2 separate regions of the Homo sapiens genome follow, and region 1 is linked to region 2. The links are contacts of gene promoters, found by promoter capture Hi-C in blood cells and fetal thymus (Javierre and others, 2016). All regions are on one chromosome and are shown on one strand. Each heading gives the region's core, a stretch centred on a gene start or on the middle of the fragment in contact. The rest is flanking DNA. Distances are from core to core; before and after follow the strand shown. Region 1 has its middle 8.7 kb from the start of SV2C. Region 2 holds the start of SV2C-AS2 (SV2C antisense RNA 2).

Region 1 (5,636 bases), core at 2,049-4,548, 240 kb after region 2:
TTATTTTATGTTTTTAAAAATTAGTTTGTTTGAATCAAGATCCAAATAAGGTCTACCATACATTGCAATTGGTTGATATGTCTCTTAAATCTCTATTTATCTATTGGTTCATCCTTCCTTTCTTTTCCCTTCAGAATTTACTATGGATGAAGAAACCATATGTCCTGTAGAGCTCTCCACAGTCTGGATTTTACTGATTTCGTTCCCGTTATGCTATTTAACATGCTCTGCTGCTCCCTGTATTTCCTGCAATCCAGAAAATAGATCGAGAGGCTTATCAGAGGCAGGTTTTGTTTTTTTTTAAATGAAACTACTACATATGTGTCGTTTAATTAGGAGGCATATACTAATTGTCACTTTTGTGATGTTAGCAGTTGTTGATGATTATTGCTACTTATCCACTATTTCATTTGGGTTTTGCTAAATGGTAAAATTCTAATGAATACTTCTTAAACAGCCATCCTCCTATCCTTTTACGAGATGTTTGATAGTAATATGATGGGGTAGGTTTTCGTTGCCTTTTTAACGTGAGGGGGATACAAGACAAAACCTAGGACCTGCCCAAGTTATTGAATCTAATAGTGAGGCACAGCCCACCCTCCATTACAAGCAACCTGAAGGTTTACACTTTCAGTGTAAGGGAAACCAGAGATCAATGCTCCCTACCTCTACCAATATAGGGGACTGCTGAAAATGTTGCCTTGATGCTTAGTAAAGCAAGAGAATGTGGCTATGCAGTAGAGGTAGAATATGCTTACCTGAGAAATTTCAACTGAATACAAGTCATAGAGCTCTCTAGCACCAAATTCTCAACAAACTATGAATTCAGTTTAATATTGGGTTGGTAATTTCCCAGATCCCTGATAGAAAGAAATGCAAATCCTATGTGGAGGAGCCCTCCCTCATCCTGGACTTCAAAAAAAAATCACATAAATAAATGAAAGTTAGAAAATAATGAAGCACATAAAATAACAACACACAAGGAAGCATGATAACATGAAGTAGCACCAGCAGATATAACAAAAGAAACTTCAATCTTTTCCTGAAGAAAGACTTCTTTAGTTAAACTTCAATAGTTAGAACTATTGGTCATAATTTTCACTGTACTTGAAGAAAAATATGTGCAGGCAATAGGAAACTATAAGGAATAACCAATCATATTTAAAAAGGCACCAGATCAATCTTCTATCCAACTCTGCTGGTTGCCCTACCAACATCCAGTCCAGCTTCCATACACATATGATACTTTATGCTTACCTCAGAGAATCCTGATTTTATTTAGGGATTTACCTTTTCAAAAACTACACACATATATTTAACAATACAGTTTTATACAGAATGCTAAGAGCACTTTTCATATTTTACAGCAGGGCTTGAAACAATATGGACCTTCTATTAATGCTCATTCCATAGCACAACCAAATATAACTCCTACATAGATGCATTACAGTGTGTTTAGAGTTTAAAGGCTCAATGGAAATAAGATGAAAAAGACTATATAAGGAATTTTACATAACTAATTGGAAAATAAATGCAAAAAATAGTAAATAAAATTTAATATGGTCTCATGTGCCCTGAGAGAAGTGGTGCCTGGTTTGGAGGAGTAATTGCTATGTGCAAATAATCTATTTGGAACTGCTGCCACTTTAGGGTTATTCATCATTCACCCCTTTTCTACCAGACATGACACTTCCAGTTTCCTTTACTTGATAGCAATGTCTTTTAAGATCCATAAAACAACTGCAAAATTGAAGTTTGTGCCCTTCTTTCTAGCTTCTGGGTAGACTTCTTTTACTAATCTAGTCAGTTAATTCAAGGTTGCATCCATCTAAGTGTGGATCTGCCACTCACTGGACCACAGGACAGCTTGGACATGTCTTCTCTTGGTTGGTGGGCATCTCCAGATCTTTGTTAATTTCTTCCAGTGCAACGCATGACTCCACTGCCATCTTCTTCTGACAAGCTCTCGAGATTCTTGCCCAGAGCTCCGACCCCCTCAGCAAACTGAGATCTACCACTTTTCACATGACCTTTAGGGAGTGGGCTTTAGGGAATGGGCTCATTACATTCTAATTGGTCCAAATCAGTCATGATAATTCCTCTCTCCCTTTCAGTTATTGGTTTGGGCATGGATTTGTAACACAATTCTGCTCAATGACATTTGCAGGGAAGATTTCTAGACAGCTTTTGGGAAAGCTTTCCTTACTCCCGAAAATATAAATGCAGCAAAGAAGTCCCATTTGTGTCTTTAGACATTATTTGCTTGAATGTGACATATAGAACTTTGCAAATATCCTGGAATCATGGAGGGGAGGGAGCCTGATGACATAACACATGAAGGATGTAAGAGTCAAGTGAATTTCAGAGAAGTGGTGCCAGAACCCTGGTGTGCCATGTCTGGAACAGCCCTACCTCTGTTGTGTAGTAATACATTTCCTCTTTTTTATTTTTTAGAGCCACTTTAAGTTAGAGACTTTTGCTCACAGCTGAAAGCATCCTTATACTCTCTCCAGCCCTAAAAGAGCACCTGGCACACAGTAGATACTCCACAAATGTCTACTGATTTGAGTTGAGCTGTGTTTCAAGTTTATTTCTGTTGGGAAAACAAGATGGATGTCTCCATCTGTTGTATTCCAAGGTTCTAGCACAGTTACTACATCATAGAATGTGTTTGACAAATAATTGCCTAAAGTCAGAATGGCTTCAGTATCTTAACAAGCAAAAGGGAAGAAGCTGCCCCAGGCAGGGTCAGAGAAAGAAACTCGGAAGAGGTCTCTAGCCTCCTCTGGTGGCTCAAAGGGGAAGGCAGTGTGTCACTTAGAAGTGTGTGGTAGGGTAGAGATGAGAAAGGAAGATGAAAATGCCCACAAGAGATACTTTTTTCTGAAAGAGGCAGATTTTGATGTCTGGAAAACATTCTTGTTAAGAAGGAGAGAGATGAACTAAAGGAAACTCTAGGCCATTCAGGGCCGTACCCTGAGTTTGCTTTATAGGCCAATAACTGAATCTCTCTATGTTGTTTGTTCCTATATTATCTGCACATCTAGGATAAGGTAGTTTTTGTCACTCAGAAAATGTCTCGCCTCAGTAAATGTGGCATCTGGTAAGATGCAAGGAAGGGGGATGTTCCTCATGTCTCAGTCCCAGGAAGAAGAGCTACCATTACCTGAATGGTGGCTGAGAAGAGTGGAACCGCATCACACAGCATTGTGGGGTCCCAGGGATTGGTTTGGAGACTCCAAAAAGAAGTACAGCTTCCCAGAAGAAGCACAATTTACCTGCTTTAAATCACTCCATGATTACACAGTGATTTAAAGTGCAAACTCCTTTGCCTGTTCGTGTGTCTCAAATCAATGCCCACCAGAGAGCCAGAGCCTTCACTGCAGAGGAAGTTCTGAATGACACAGGCCAGGATGGTTTGACCCATCTCTGCCCTTGGCCACCCCAGTGCTTGCACAGTAGGTCTGTGAACCCTCAACCAATGAGGGATGAGAAGACATGGATATTCTGGGCTAATTGGCATACCCCACAGACTCATCAAGTTTCTCTACTTCTTTTTTTAAAATTAATTTATTTTTTATTTCAATAGGTTTTTAGGGGGCAGGTGGTGTTTTGTTACATGAATAAGTTCTTTAGTGGTGATTTCTGAGATGTTGGTGCACCCATCACGCGAGCAGTGTGCATTGTACCCAATGTGTAGTCTTTTATCTCTCACCGCCCTTCCACCCTTTTGCCTGAGTCCTTAAAGTCCATTGTATCATTCTTATGCCTTTGCATACTCATAGCTTACCTTCCACTTATGAGTAACAACATATGATGTTTGGTTTTCCATTCCTGAGTTACTTCACTTAGAATAATAGTCTCCATTTACATCTAGGTTGCTGTGAATGACATTATTTCATTCCTTTTTATGGTTGAGTAGTATTCCATGGTGTATATATATATATATATATATATATATATATATATATATATACACACACATACATACCACATTTTCTTTATTCACTCATTGATTGATGGGCATTTGGGCTGGATCCATATTTTGCAATTGCGAATTGTGATGCTCTAAACATGCATACAGCCAATTAATCTTCGACAAAGCAAACAAATACATAAAATTGGGAAAGGACATGCTTTTCAAAAAATGATGCTGGGATAATTGGCAAGCCATATATAGAAGAATAAAACTGGATCTTCATCTCTCACCTTATATAAAAATCAACTCAAGATGGATCAAAGACTTAAATCTAAGACCTGAAACCATACAAATTCTAGAAGATAACATTGGAAAAACCATTCTAGACATTGGCTTAAGCAAAGATTTCATGACCAAGAAACCGAGCACAAATGCAACAAAAACAAAGATAAATAGATGGGACTTAAACTATAAAGCTTCTGCAAAGCAAAAGAAATAATCAGCAGAATTGATAGCCCACGGAGTGGGAGACAATCTTCACAATCTATACATTTGACAAAGGACTAATATCCAGAATCTACAAAGAACTCAAACAAATCAGTAAGAAAAAAATTCCAACAGAAAGTGGGCTAAGGACATGAATAGACAATTTTCCAAAGAAGACATACAAATAACCAACAAGCATATGGATAAATGCTCAACATCACTAATTATCAGGGAAATGCAAATCAAAACCACAATGAAATACCACCTTACTTCTGCAAGAATGGCCATAATCAGAATCAAAATAATAGACGTTGGTCTGGATGTGGTGAAAAGGGAACACTTTTATACCATTGGTGGGAATGTAAACTAGTACAATCACTATGGAAAAAATGTGGAGATTTCTTAAAGAACTAATAGTAGAACTACTATTTGATCCAGCAATCCCACTCCTGGGTATCTACCCAGAGAAAAAGAAGTTTCTCTACTCCTGTGTAAAGTTAATCAAGCTATACCCACCACCTGAGATACCAAATACCACCTTCTCTACTGTAATTCTGCAGCCATTAGGGAAAAGCATCCTGCCCAGCTTCACACTTGTTAGCTCTTAGGGTCAACTGCATATATGGCTCTCATTACTTACCAGTTTCATTATAAATAATTCCATTTCATTTCCTGTAGTACAACAGCTTTTTGAGGGCAAGGACATCACATTTTCTACAATATTAAATCCCACAAACTCTCCAACACAATGCTTTTCATATGAAAGGTGCTAAACACATTTTGAATAATTGTTCACACATTTAATTAATTTTTCACATTTTTTCTTGAACTTTGTTTTCCAAAATAAGGATTATCAAGAGTTTTTCTATATAAGGAACTCATGGCTTTAAATTCTGCAGTGCCTTCTTTGGAGGGGTAATGGCATAACAATATCTGGAGAAACCTGCATATCTATAGTTTTTTTAAAATTTAGTTAAAAAAACAAACAAACATGTGCCCCTTTTCTGACAAGGGTAATCTCTTTGAATTTTTTCTCTCTCCTTTTCGTTCAGTGATTTCTCCTGCTGCTCTAAGCTCTGGAGCAAGTGTTGTGGATCCTCTGTATCCAGATGATTTATAGCTCAACTCTGAATATTCCCGTAGGTCTTCCCCATTCTCACTGCTAGAATTTCTTTTTAACATTCTACTATAGGTCTATTAATGCATTGAGTTCTATTAAATTATTTTCCTG
Region 2 (6,297 bases), core at 3,477-5,976:
CCACGTGACATGAAGGTGTATCCAGGGTTGAGAATCCTGCTGTCTTCCCAGGGATGTCTGCATTCTTTGAATTGATGTGGGTTTCATATACAAAGGAAATTATAAAAGCAAAACATCCACTCCACCTTTCTGACAAATGGTTTTCATTTCTGAATTCCCTTTAGTGTACTTCCAGTCATATAAATCACAGGAAATCAGAGGATTTAGACAATTTTGCTTTCTGCTTTTTTTTCATTCATATTACTGTTTTCTCATGTTGATGTTTTGTTTAAAATGAAATGATTTATTTAGCATGGAACCATTATTCTTGTAACCATGCCATTGGCTAATGGGAGCTTTCCAAATTTGGGGTAACAAGTGATTCTGCAATTAACACCTTCACATATATGACCTGCTTCGTTTGTGTGTGTTCATTAGGGAATATCAAGCAGCATAAAACATCCAAGGGAAAGTGTTTATGATGTGATGCAGGGGATACTGAGGCCAGCAAAGTATGCTTTGCACACTGGAGAGGAGAGAGAGAGGGATCCAACCCAAAGGCTTCCCATCCCTTTTTTCTTCTCCCTTCCTGCTTAGGCTCTTGTTAAACTCCCTTGTTTATTCTGCTTCTCACAGCACAGAGCTTAATTCATTTCACCAGAGGCAGCTTCTCACCTAACCTGAATTGTTTCCTTCTCTTCCAACTGTTACTCAGTTGCCTCAACTTGATTCCCTCCACGCTACCCTTCCCACTCCCCTCCAAGGGCTGGTTTATACCAATCTTGCACATCTCCTTGTCCAGAATTAGCCTTGTTTAGGTCCAGGTCACCTCTGGGGGAGTGGAGCTGGGTAGCCTTTGTAGTCACTCAGCACCACCTCTTCTCAGGACCGGTACAGATACCTATGTTACTTATTAAATGAAAGACTGAGCTAACAGATTTCCTGAGATCTTCCAAATATGTTGGAAGTCGATTTTTGTAATAGACATTTTAATGGAAATTAGTTGGGTCATATTTGTTTTTTTGATACCAGACTATCATATTTTTTTTTTCAGAGAGAAAAAATGAATTTCATATTAAGTCAGAAAAGACTGAATGCAATTGTTTTCTAATCTTCAAAGAAAGATAAAAATCTGTCTTACCCTAGTATCTATTATGTGTGTGTGTGTGTGTGTGTGTGTGTGTGTGCGCCTGGCCATGTTCCTTAATGAGGGCAAGATGGCACCCTGCACCCCTTCGAGCAGGGCCTTCCTTACACTCAAGTGGAGAAGGACTCACCTACAAGTTGTGAGCTGACAGGAATCCCTGGATCCCAAGTAGCCCTTTATCTCCCTCCCATCTCCACCACCATAAGGGGCTTTTGACTGCTTATTCCTGTTGAAATCAAATATTCTGGGAAGGTAATAACGGGAGCCTTTATGTCTTGTTTATCTGATTAACCTAGCTAGGGAGTGAGGGCCTGGGCCAGGGTAAATAATGATGGAATGACTGAGCACCCCTTGGAGTTCATCTGTGGCCAAGGTCATGAACATGGCTGTGCATCCCAACAGCCAAGTGAGCTGTTTAAAAATAGATTCCCACACCTACTGGGAGGGGAGGTAGATATGTCTGTGCTGGGAGCAGCACCACTGAGTCAGACATCTGGGTTTAAGGCTAAGTGATCCAGGACAAGTTACTTCCCCTCTCTGTGCCGCATTTTCCTCACCTGAACATGGGGTAAGAATACCTACTCTTACAGGATTGGGATGAGAATTAAATAAGTTGAGATCATTTAAAATTTCCAGCATCATGCCCGACCCACCCTCCACCACACAGATGAGGAAACCAAGGCTCAGAAGGGTGAAAGGCCTTTTCCAAATTATCCAGCTATTTTTCTGGCAGTGACTGCACCTGAATTCAGTGACCCCTAGATCAGTGCTTTCCTCCACTTTGTTGATGAAGTAGAGGGAGAGGGGGAGGTGGATCTCTAATAGGCAATGCTTTATGAGGAACGGGGAGCTGACAGCTGAAGGATCAGGAGGTCTCAGGCTGTGATGGAAGAAGTGGAAAGGGACCCAAAGGACAGCAGAGAGGACTGAAGACCAGTGCTCCCTCCCTTACACTGGCCCAAATGCTCACTCTGGAAAGCTGGGAGGCTGGACCCCATACGGGGAGGAAAACTATCATCCATAGCCAAATTAATTCTCAAATGCATATTTCATTCATTCATTCATTCATTCACCTAGAGTTATGGCAGTAAATAAGGAAGACAATGTCTTGCCCTCAAGGAGCTAACATTCTAGTGAGTTAAACAAGTACACATGCAACCTAACATCCTCTCATCATAAGGTCTGGGTGATAATTTCCTTTAAGTACTTCAGTATAAACAATATGATTGATAGATAAATTGTCTCTAATGCATACCCATATAATTTAAAGCACATTAATCAAGAATCAACAGGCCAGAGATGGTTACTTAGTGCTTTAAAGATCATTTTAGAAATCTGCATGAGAAGGTTTGTTAATGACCACGGAGATGATTTTTTCACTGATGATGTGAGTGCTGTTCTGTATAAGCAATGATTGGAAAGAATGTTCTGCCCTTAGCCTAATGAACATACAAGCGTCCTCCAAGCCCTGCAGCCTCAAGTTGGTGAAATGGTACTCCTGGTCTAGACTCCAGATTCTAGAGCCCCCTTATCCTGCACCCCACAATTAAAGGGGCATTCCCTTGTTTAGCTGGCCCACAAGTCTGGTGGCCCTGCTGTCAGCATATCAAGCACATGGCCCTTTCATGCAAGGGCTTGCTCAGTACCCAAGGACAGCGAGATGGACTTCCTTGGAGCTCAAAAACAAACTTTGTGACTGTTTTTGTGCTAGTACACTTGGCAGGATTTGCTTCCATTGTAATATATTGCCTGATGGCAAGGTTGTGGGAGCAGGAAGCATATATTCCCCACCCCCTTCACCCTCTACTTCTAACTACCAGAGACAAAATGAATCTGACTTTTGCTGGATAGCCAAAGCATAAACATATATAATATAATGATAAGGCGTATAAGGAAAAATCAAGCAGAGCAGAGGGCCAGGGATGGAGTGGATTACATAGGTTGGTTAGTCGCGATAGCTGAAAGATTCCTCTGTACCAAAATCTTCACAAATAAGTGAGATATTTATCTTTATATTAGACGTAGAATGTATTCAAGAAAGAATGAATGAAATTGCCATTACAGAATACCAGATGACGACAGTGAAGAGAATTCTAGAGCTAGAAAGGCCCTGAGATGCTATTTATTTCATACTCCTCATTTAAATCTCAAACAATCCAGGCCCAGCTAGGCTGAGTGGTGTCCCTGAGGTCGCACAGCTGGTCAGTAAGAGATCCAAGATGACAGACCTTCGGAACTGAAGAATGGGGAGGAAACAAGAGAACTCTGTCAAAACAAGGACAGTCCTAAGGGAAGGGCTTGGGTTGCTTAATTCTGGGAAAATGTTTTGATTTTAGCTCATCAAGGAAGAGACCAATCCCACTGCACTGGGTGATGGCAGCAGCTGCCCAGGACTCTCAGGGATCGGCAGGTGTGAACAATCAGATCCTCAAATCCTTTCTGACCTCATGTCTGAAACTGTGCATGCATAAGGGGGCATAAGGGGGAAAGAAAAGGGAAGAAGGTAGGCAGAGAAAGGCAGGAACATGCGGCCAAACGACACCATGAGACAGGCTTGCCTGGCCCTGGGAGTCTGTGCAGAGTTGCAGGACGGCCCTGAGAGCGTGGGCTGCATCTCACAAGGTGTGCGCTCCTGGCCCCGAGCGCCACGGAGGAGGGGTAAAGATGGCCCCTAATGGCTGGGCACGCTGGCTCATGTCTGTAATCCCAGCACGTTGGGAGGCCGAGGCAGGCAGATCACTTGAGGTCAGGAGTTCGAGACCAGCCTGGCCAACACGGTGAAACCCCGTCTCTATTAAAAATACAAAAATTAGCTGGGAGTGGTGGAAGGCACCTATAATCCCAGTTACTCAGGAGGCCGAGGCAGGAGAATTGCTTGAATCTGGGAAGCAGAGATTGCAGTGAGTGGAGATTGCGTCACTGCACTCCAGCCTGGGTGACAGAGTGAGACCCTGTCCCCCCCCCCAAAAAAAAAAAGTGGCCCCTGAGCCATAAGCACACAGGAAATGTGAGCAGGGGACTTGGCCACAGCCACATAGTGGCAGCAGAAAGTTAACACCTGGACGCAGAGAAACATAAAGGCCAAAACCTAGAACTGGAATGAGCTGGAACAGGCCTACACCGCGGGAGCTACATTTATGACTTTTGAGAGATTTACAACTTTCACAAAGCAGGGAGAGAAAAGTAGGGACCCTGATGGATGGAAAAAATCCATTTCAACCTGTCATTACATATACTTTCATTTTGAAGACTTCAAGAGATGAGGGAAAATTGACTTATTTTTCCCAGTTAGGGTATTGAGGGAAGCTGACCAGCACAGACTAAACCCAAAAAATGAAATGCATCTTCTGTTGGTGTTCTCAGTTCTACCGCAAAGAGGGTTGAAAGTAATTTTGCTGGTGGCAGGGACTGGGGACGGAGAAATGAGGGAAAAGGAAGCTCCCCCACACCAGTATGTTAGATGGTTGGGGCTCCTTTCAGATTTACGGCAAGCTGGAAAATCCATTCTATGTCTGGCTCATGTCACATTCATATTTCATGTCTATTAGAAGAATCTCATGCCACATCAATTGTTTGTGATCTACATTACATATAATAGGCTCTCTGCTTATCTTTGACACAGGTGAGGGGCTGATGTAGAAACTGTTAAAAGACTATACAATGACTTGTATATTCAATAATGGCTCAAACTTCAAAGGTCTATCATTTTGCCCTGCTCTTCATTTCTTTCCTCATAATGCTTCTCAAAGCAATCTTGTCTTTCCAGCCTCACAATCAAGGACAAATTCCTGAATGCAACATTTGCTTTTCCGTCTTCCCGCTTCACCTCACTCATCCCTGCAGAAGTACAAGTATTCCTGGCTTCTTCAAGTCTACGCCTAAGAATTAAGAGCCTTGGGGAGAAGGGCACTGCATCGACCACTGCATCTCAATCATTGTGGCAGACGTACCACAGCACTGGGAAGCTGGCCTTGGCAAGAATCTCAGGCTATTACTACAGAGTTGGGAAGAAGGTTTAGGATCAAGATAGAGGTGACTGACCAAGGTGAGTGCATGAGCAGAGAGGTGCCTTCAACTTCCACTGCAGACAGTTCTGATATCTTGCCTCTACCTGAGGTGAGTTCTAGCCCTGGGCAAGTCAGTCCAATGAATGTCATTGAGAACCAGCTGCAAACTACTACTGCCCTACTGACCTAAGCACAGAGGTTATAGGGAAGTCTAACTTGCAAAGCCTTCTCTCAATGTCATACACCATTTTTGAAGATCAAGACATCTTAATACTTTGACCACTTGCTTCCAGGCTAGTTTTTTTGTATTCCACTCTGCCAGCCTGAGTTTCTAGCTCACTGAACTCTTGTCTCCTGGCCTGGTATCCTAACTCTGGTGTCTGTTATTTCTTAGTCCAGATCTGTGTTACCTCTGGATTTTCTTACGTTGATGGATTTACCCCCAGACTCCAACTCTTGCCTCTCAGACATGTTATTTCTATGGAGGCCTTTGTTTTCTGTTTCCTTTGACTTGAACTATTCCAGGTCTCTCTCTTAGACATATTTTCAGAATCTAACCACTTTCTCACCACCTCCATTGGCACCATTACCTCTTGCCACATTTCTTGCTGTGGACTTCATAAGTCAGTTCATGTCACTCATCTGCCCCCAAACCCCACATTGGATTTCATTTTACTCAGCAAGAAGACCAAAGCCCTTTTATTGTCCACTCTGACCCCATGGCTTCTTACCCTCTACCTTGGTCATTCTGCTCCAGCCAGACAAGCTTTGCCTCTCTTCCAACTGGTCTCTCACACTCCCACCTCAGGACCTTTGCACCTGCTGTTGCCTCTGCTGTGAATACACTCTCTCCAGATGTCTGCCTGGGTCTTTGCTCAAATGTCAGCTTTACAGTCACATCCCCCTAGACCATTCTATTTACAGTTGTAACTCTCCTTACCCCAGCATTCTCTATGCTCCACGTAGCTTTATTTTTCTCTACAGCACTTAGCACCATCCAATATACTACATCTACTTTACTTATCTGTTTGTTGGACTGTCTTCCTCAAACTATTATAGAATATAAGCTCTATCAAGGCAAAGCTTTCTGTCTGTTTTGTTCACTGCTGTCTCCCAATGACTAAAATAGTTCCTGGCACAGGATATGCATTCCATAATCATTTT

Evidence for each region. Contacts are between HindIII fragments. The CHiCAGO score rates a contact against its expected background, and 5 or more counts as called.
Region 1: a contact is called between a fragment that was not itself captured here and the fragment with the promoter of SV2C-AS2 in region 2, in 1 of 17 cell types (M0 macrophages). The highest score is 5.2, in M0 macrophages.

What each region holds. Positions count from the first base shown.
Region 1 is chr5:76,071,844-76,077,479 of GRCh38, reverse strand. It overlaps a transcript of SV2C not described here and the pseudogene SAP18P1. Among named protein-coding and RNA genes, the nearest start is that of SV2C, 8.7 kb to the left of the region's middle. The HindIII fragment of the contact is 2,199 bases long and covers 2,199-4,397 here.
Region 2 is chr5:76,310,058-76,316,354 of GRCh38, reverse strand. It overlaps SV2C-AS2 (SV2C antisense RNA 2), which reads left to right and starts at 4,726. Exons shown (of 4, transcript XR_001742750.2): 1 at 4,726-5,171. The region is part of intron 12 of SV2C (synaptic vesicle glycoprotein 2C); the gene reads right to left. The HindIII fragment of the contact is 6,036 bases long and covers 1-5,901 here.